Linked DNA regions of Homo sapiens: region 1 is linked to region 2. The links are contacts of gene promoters, found by promoter capture Hi-C in human tissues and cell types (Jung and others, 2019). All regions are on one chromosome and are shown on one strand. Each heading gives the region's core, a stretch centred on a gene start or on the middle of the fragment in contact. The rest is flanking DNA. Distances are from core to core; before and after follow the strand shown. Region 1 overlaps PKP4 (plakophilin 4). Region 2 holds the start of ACVR1C (activin A receptor type 1C).

The links. The method cuts DNA at HindIII sites, captures the fragments that hold promoters and counts their contacts. A contact is called where the count stands out against the background at its distance.
Region 1: a contact is called between a fragment that was not itself captured here and the fragment with the promoter of ACVR1C in region 2, in 1 of the 25 tissues and cell types used here (hippocampus).

Annotation. Positions count from the first base shown.
Region 1 is chr2:158,463,626-158,467,588 of GRCh38, reverse strand. All of the region lies in intron 1 of PKP4 (plakophilin 4), which reads right to left. Among named protein-coding and RNA genes, the nearest start is that of PKP4, 8.7 kb to the right of the region's middle. The HindIII fragment of the contact is 6,532 bases long and covers 1-3,963 here.
Region 2 is chr2:157,626,977-157,630,814 of GRCh38, reverse strand. ACVR1C (activin A receptor type 1C) reads left to right here and starts at 1,951. Exons shown (of 9, transcript NM_145259.3): 1 at 1,951-2,243. The coding sequence starts at 2,171. RefSeq lists a silencer at 2,007-2,236. The HindIII fragment of the contact is 14,203 bases long and covers 661-3,838 here.

The DNA.
Region 1 (3,963 bases), core at 1,372-3,871, 840 kb before region 2:
CAGGAGCGAGCCACCGTGCCCACATTTTTTTTTTTTTTTGACAAGGTCTCACTCTCTCACCCAGGATAGAGTGCAGTGGTGAGATCATGGCTCACTGCAGTCTTGCCCTCCCAGGCTCAAGTCATCCTCCCACCTCAGCTTCCTCAGTAGCTGTAACTACAGGTGTAGGCCACTAGCATTCTTAAAATGACAAAACTATAGTTGTAATGAAAAATGAATGGTTGCCAGAGATTTAGGAGGCGATGAGAGTAGGAGAGATGAGCGTTGTGGTGATGGAAATGTTGTGTATCTTGATTACATCAATGTTAATATCCTGGTTGTGACATTGTAATATAGTTTTCAAGATGTTACCACTGGGGAAAACAATATAAAGGGTACACAGGATCTTTCCTTCTGTAAATTTTATTACAGTGATTATGTGAGGTTGGGAAAGGGACAACCAAAATGTATAAGAATATTTCTATCTACTATATTAAGACCAAACAAAGGTTTACTTACTATACCAACTAGGTCAAAACAAGCTATGAAATTTTGTTTCATTACTCTTAACATTTATGTAATTTTATAGTACCAATAACCCTTAGCATTTTTGTAACATTTCCCCTTTGAAAAACTTCATGTGCTTTAAATTATATCTACTTCTGTCTTAACTCTTCAACTGAGTATACAAAGATATTACTGATTCACAAAAGGTACAGATACAGAAAGTTTGCTCAATATCACACTTTCAAAGCTTAGCTTAGTCTTGGTGCTTGATTGGTGCCTATTAGTAGTATGATAAAGAGCATTATGAAAACTCATCTCACTATGGTTATAATCCAGGCAATTAAGTTTAAAATGAATATGAACCAATCTGTTTAAAATCTTCTAATTAATTTCTTTTTGAAATGGAGTTTCGCTCTGTCACCCAGGCTGGAGTGCAGTGGTGCAATCTCTGCCCACTGCAACCTCTGCCTCACGGGTTCACGTGATTCTCTCACCTCAGCCTCCCAAGTAGCTGGGACTACAGGCGCCCGCCACCACGCCTGGCTAATTTTTTTTTTTTTGTATTTTTAGTAGAGATGGGGTTTCACCATGTTGTCCAGGCTGGTCTTGAACTCCTAATCTCAAGTGATCCACCTGCCTCAGCCTCCCAAAGTGCTGGGATTACAGGTGTGAGCCACTGCACCCAGCCGTTAATTTCTTTACTAAGGAATTTGGTATAATGAATTATTTATCTAGCAAGTTGTATTAGAAAAGCATTTTTTTAAAGTCTAAATAGTTTTTTCCTTTGAAACATGCAGGATAAATGGTATCAGGGTCTCAGACCAGTTTACAAAAGGACAGAGGATAGGTACTAGGCACAAACAGACACGATTATCCAAGAGTAGCAGGTGAAGGTGTTCAAAACTAGAATTCAAACTCATTCATTCACTTAAGGTATGTAGAACCACTGGAGGTCAAGATTTAAGTCCTGTAGAAAGATAAAGTCCCTGCTGTTGAGTAGCTTAGAGCAGGACTATTTTCCCATGGAACTGATATACTATAGTTACACTACAGGACGGGAGATTTATGGATTAATGTTGCTTCTGTGAAAAATTATATTCACAGTTCTAAATAATATTTTGGAAGACTGACACTTGCCGATATACTATCCGAAGATTTCAGACTGACACTTATTTTTCATCTGTTGACAGTCTGAATTAGACCTTTAACATCTGAGTTGTTTATCACAGGTCTCAGACTAATAGTATTAATAGTTCTTGTGAAGTCCAGTTGGATTTTGTGATTCCTTAGTCAGTGCCTTTTTTAAACAGACTTACTGCTTATGTAGTTGTCGACAAAATGACAGTAAGTGAAAAATTCCCATCAGTGCATCATTCTGAGATTCAAAGTAAGATTCAATGAGACCATTTATTCTAGCATACATCACGAGAGATTTTGAAACATTCTGTTTATTCATAACAATGGGAGGGAATATTTTCAACAGCAAGTTTGGGCTTATAAAGGCACACAAATTACATAGAGAATAAAAGAAAAGCACAAAACACAATAAACGAAAATACTGCTGCATGAAAAATAAAAATAAGAATGTAATAAAATGGCAGGTCTTACAGCATAAATTATGGTTTCTCATAAATCATGTATTGTCATTATGATTAATTATTTCACATAGGCTATATGGTAAAGTGTTTCAAGAGATACAGCCAAAATAATCAAGTTCATGATTAAAACTTATTTTGAAATCACTATTTATCTTTGGTGCAGACTTTTCCCAAAGAAAGCTAATGAGAGTGGTTAGTGCATATCTCTAGAATCGGGTAATTTATCATGTAATACACAATTAAGCAAGTAGAAGTATGAGCTACAACCTAGTTATTTTATAGCTCATCCTTAATACTTATGAAACAATGTTACATGCTTATTTATATACCAACATTTCTAGGACAATCTTCTCTACCTCATGTGTCTTATCTTTCCCAACCAGACTGAAAAATGTATCATGGATTCCTTAAAGACCGAGACTCCCATTACTGAATCTAACACAGACAGTAAGTATCCCTGGAGGAAGTCATCTTTTTGGCCATAAGGCCTATCAGTCTGATATGGAGTAGGGGACTAAAAAATGTTGGTTAAAATGAACTAAAATGAATCATTTCAAATAAGTAGTATCGTTTTAAATAAGTATGCAAAATGAAACACAATACTGCACACACAGCAGGACTCCAACAAATATCTAAAGTACTAATTGTCTACAGTCCCCTCACTTGCACCCCTAGTGGTATACAGGAATAAAGTTACCTTTAATTCATCAAACAGTCCCTGTTTCCCACTCAACTCAGGGTACAGGTGTCAGAACACATGATCCATTTCACTGCAAAGTGGTAAATAATGGTTTCTATTTTACATGAGTGTTTACAATTCTCATGAAGGTATGGGAACAACAGCCAGTTCTTCAAGGGTTTATTTTGATCGTGACATTGACAATTCATTTAATACTGCATACAATAGTAGTATAATTAATGCTTCCCTTTGCAAATAATGTGCTTATTGCATTAGCAAAGGGGAAGAGCTAACCTCAATATTTTTAAACAATTGTTTTATAGATAAATACATACTAGAGTTCTATACGGATTTTTTTTCTCCACAAAGGAAGAGAACAGGGTCTAGGAGAAACTTTCATCACTGAATTTTTAAATTACTTTTTATAGAAGAGCACAAATCCAAGTAAAAAATTCTCCTCATGAAATCTGCCACAATTTCTGAACACTGGTAGATTGTCTATATGTAAAAATTAGACTTGAATGAAAAGTCCCTCTATTCTATGAGATATGGATTGACGAGTTCCCTATGAACCTAAAGTATTCATACAAAATGTTTTCAGAGGAGCAACTCTGTCAGTTGTTTAACTTCTCTGAGGACAAATCAAACCATCTGAGCAAGTAAGAAGTGGATCTTTCTCACTGTAACAAGACTAGTCCCTTCTAACCACCATGCTAAATCCCCTTTCTTGTTTCTATCCAACTTCTGAAAAATGTAGTCTCAATCAGAGGTGAAGCCTCCAATGTGCACAGGGGACTGGTTGTAGACAAGTAAGTCCCAGAAGTCAGGGCTGTGACAAACTGCAGATGTGCAGCTCCATAAAGGCTCACTGCTCAGCTCCTGCCCCGAGGGGCCCCAGGGATCCTCACTCCTGGAGCACTTCACCACTACCGCACAAGACACGGAGCCACTGACTCAGCCACAGAGGGGTCACAGGTTTGTCTGGCTGCGACACATATTTTCAGGAGCTGAGAATTTCAAGTATACAACTTCAATTTTCCCTCCTTATCCCAGAGGGTAAATTGTCATAAATCCTTGGGAAGACAGCATATTCTTGCTGAGGAAAAAATGTAATGGCTTGATGTTCTAAGAGTTGCGAAATGTAAGTACTAGAGGGACTCTAGAGAGCATCTAGACCAACTCCCTCATTTTATAGACAAG
Region 2 (3,838 bases), core at 702-3,201:
TTCTCCTGCCTCAGCCTCCCGAGTAGCTGGGACTACAGGCACCCGCCACCACACCTGGCTAATTTTTTGTATTTTTAGTAGAGACGGTGTTTCACCATATTAGCCAGGATGGTCTCGATCTCCTGACCTCGTGATCCGCCCGTCTCGGCCTCCCAAGGTGCTGGGATTACAGGCGTGAGCCACCGCGACCGGCCTTTTTTTTTTTTTTTTTTTTTTTTTTGCAAATGAGAGCTTTACAACTTGCAGAGGATGTTGCTTTAGAGACAAAATAAGTATGTGGGGAGTAAATCCCTGCCATTGTTGTAATGTGTATGGTTTAACAATGCTCTCTCATACACTACCCTTTTTGATCCTGGTCAAAGTTCTGGGAAATAGGGAGGAATTAAGTTCCATTTACTTTTGAGGAAGCAGACCCAGAAAGTTCATTACATTCTGCTATTTAGGCTCCCGGTATCATGATCTATTGGCAGATCACAATTTAAGGTGCAGTTATCAAATAATTAGCAAGCCAAACCAGACAAAATATAATGTGTCCTAGCAGTTTCTTGCCTTTTTAAAAAAGCATCTGTTTTGTGGGTGTCTGAAAGGGCTCAGATTTGTCCCACATCTCCAGTTTTTTGTTTGTTTGGATCCAGGATAAAACAAGAACAAAGTTTTTTTGTGCTTAGGAATATAAGATGGTGGCAGAAAAGATCCTCAGGATGCCACCCACATCTCAAAGTCCAACAACCATCTCATCTCCCATACTGTGATCCTTTGATAATAAAGTCAATTACATACAACATTTCACCATAGGTCTTTCATAGAACTTAGAACACCTAGCATATAATTTAGTCCTGAGCTAGGTGAAGAAGCAAGAAATGTTTTACTCTAAAGCAATTTTTATGACGCTATCACTTTTCAAGGAACCCCCAACAGTAGTAATAACACCAGTATTGTATTCTTGCTTTTTCGCGTTGTTCAGATTGAAATAATCCCATTCACTTTAATGTTCAGGCTCCATAGGTGAATTGAATTTAATTTCTATAAATTGGTAATGTTGCCGTTGTCCTTATATTTTCAGGCACAATCCAGGCCTTATATTTTCAGGCACCCGTTTGACAGTTAGCCTCTAGGGATTAAACAATACTCAAACAAGTTTTTCATATACTACTTTAAACAATTCTTCCCCTTCCCTTAATCCGTGTGTGTGTGTGTGTGTGTGTGTGTGTGTGTGTGTGTGTGTGTATGTTCCCTTAGTTCTTCAATTGCTGAAGTTGTAGCTGCCGAAATTATCTTCCATAGGTGAGGTCTTTTACCACCAGACGTGGGTCACACATTGTAGATGGCCACATCACCTGGCGCAGGTGGTCCAGCTTTGGTCGCCATTCATAGAGGGAAGGGTTCCCAAAAGGCACCCAAGAAGAGATGAAGTTTGTTAAACCAAAGCTTATAGGTCCAGAAGGCAGTCGGACAACTGGTCATTTCCAGGGATGAACAGAGAGGGCGCCCTTCCCCAGAGGCACAAATGGCCAGGACGCAGGGGTGGGACAAGCCAGTAGGAAGCCCGCGGGGCTCTCACAGCGCAACCTGGTTGGACTTAAGGACCCTGGACAACAAACGTCAGGAGAGCTAGGAGGCTGGCTCTTCTGCGGGAGGTTATAGAGCGGATCACCTGGGCGCAATCGCCGCGTAGTTGAAGTTTCCCTAAAGTCTCAGTGGGGCTTTTCCTCCCGTGAGAAGCCCCATTCCTGAGTATCTAGTCCCGGAGGCTCCGCACTGCTTCCCCACGCCCCCTCTTTCTTCGCCCCAGCTCTGGGCGATCTCACTGCCGGGCACAGGGCCGCCTTTGCCTGCCTGCCCTGCAGCAGCAGGCCCGGGCGGCTGCGAGAGGGCGCAGGGGGCGGAGGCGCGGCAGGGGCGGGCTCTGCCGCCCGCCCCACCACCCGCTCCCCGCCCGGCTGCGGGGCCAGTGGCAGGAGCGCCGCGCACCGCCAGCCGCAGGGGGCGTGGGATGGGGGCGGCCGGGGAGGGGGGCGCCCACACTGACTAGAGCCAACCGCGCACTTCAAAAGGGTGTCGGTGCCGCGCTCCCCTCCCGCGGCCCGGGAACTTCAAAGCGGGCCGTGCTGCCCCGGCTGCCTCGCTCTGCTCTGGGGCCTCGCAGCCCCGGCGCGGCCGCCTGGTGGCGATGACCCGGGCGCTCTGCTCAGCGCTCCGCCAGGCTCTCCTGCTGCTCGCAGCGGCCGCCGAGCTCTCGCCAGGTACGGTGCTGGTTTCTCTCCCGACGCCCGCGAGGGTGGGAGCTGGGAGGAGGTCTGCGGGTGAGCACGGGGGTGGGGGACAGGGGGTGCTCCGAGCAAACTGACCTTCGGGGCGGACAGGGAAGCGCCAGTCGGATTGAGGGGGCGCGGGATAGGGTGCAGCGTGGGCACCTGACGTCTGGCAGCCGTAGGGGTAGACAGGTGTGTTGGGGACGAAGCCGCCCGGAAGAGGGAAAAGGCAGCAGGGACGTGGGGGAATAAGTAGTAGGGGTGAGGTGGGTGACTAATTTGTGGGCAGTTTGCAGCGGAGAAAATAGGAGAGCGTTTGTGGGTGCGCGCATGGCTGGGAGCTGGGTTCACCCTGCAGGGACCTGGAGGGCTGCAGGTATGCGTCGGACGCGCTCTGTGCTAAGCCCCTGAGAGCTGCTCAAGGATGGTGGCATGGTGGTGGTGGGAGGTGGTGATTTAGTCTGAGTTTTAGGAGGCGGGGAATACCCCAAAAGCCGCAGATGCCAAGCTATGGAGGCGAGAGTGGGAGCTTAAATCTGTGTGGTTTGCAACGCACATTGCTTTCGAGGTACGATCTTTACTCAGAGTTCCTGGGGAAAAAAATTCTGGCAAGCGCCCCAGAGTTTATAACAGGTCTGTGCCTTGATAGGCTAAATAGAGCCCTCTACCCAATCTAGAAGCCAGACGTTTCTTTATAATGTTTACTAGAAAGTGGGGCAAATGCATCTTTGGTAAAATCATAATATGCTGTGACTAAAAGCCCTTTACCTCGAAAACTATTTTCATTACATTGTCCTGGATTATGCAGAGGAGGAGCAGATTCTTTGCTAACTCATTCTTTAAAAATTTCTATCAGACATTGAAGACATTTGCACATAAAAATCTGGTGTTTTCCCATAGAGCTGTGTTTTGTCCGAAGCTGATTTTGATGCATTTTGTTTTCCCAGATGACAATCTGTTTGACATTAATAGCTATATTCATGGTGGGTCGTTTTCCTCTTAGTGACATGTGCAAGAGAATGATTTGAATGATATGATTGCTGTCATGTACAGATTTCAGTGTTTCAGATGGCCTGAGAGAATCACTAAATACAATATTCAAATATAAATTTGATTATTGAAAAGGATTAATTGACAAAATCTGAGGATTAAAACATTCCAGTTATCTTTTAGGAAAACAGCCCAAGACTGTCGGAAAGATGATGGGATAAAGTGAAATATTTGCATTTAGAGTTAATAAATTTATAAGTGGGAGAAAACCAACTATGGGAAAGTCTTTAAAAAATGGGTGAAAACTCTGCTAACTTGGGATACTGAAAGTGCTCTTGACAATTTAATAGAGTTTACAAAAAAAAGTCTTCAAGGTATCACAGTTTTGATGGGGTGAAACTGCCTCTGGAGGCTGTCTGTACAACTCTTTTTATTTGGAGGAGCTGATAACTTGGCTGCACACATTTCTACAAAACAGATTCAATTTTTTTAAAATGTAGCTTCAAGGGTATATTTTGTTGTATACCCAGAATCTTTAGAAAATTTCAGAGACCTTGAGCATAGCAACATGCCTCATGTTCTTGAAAAGGCATGGA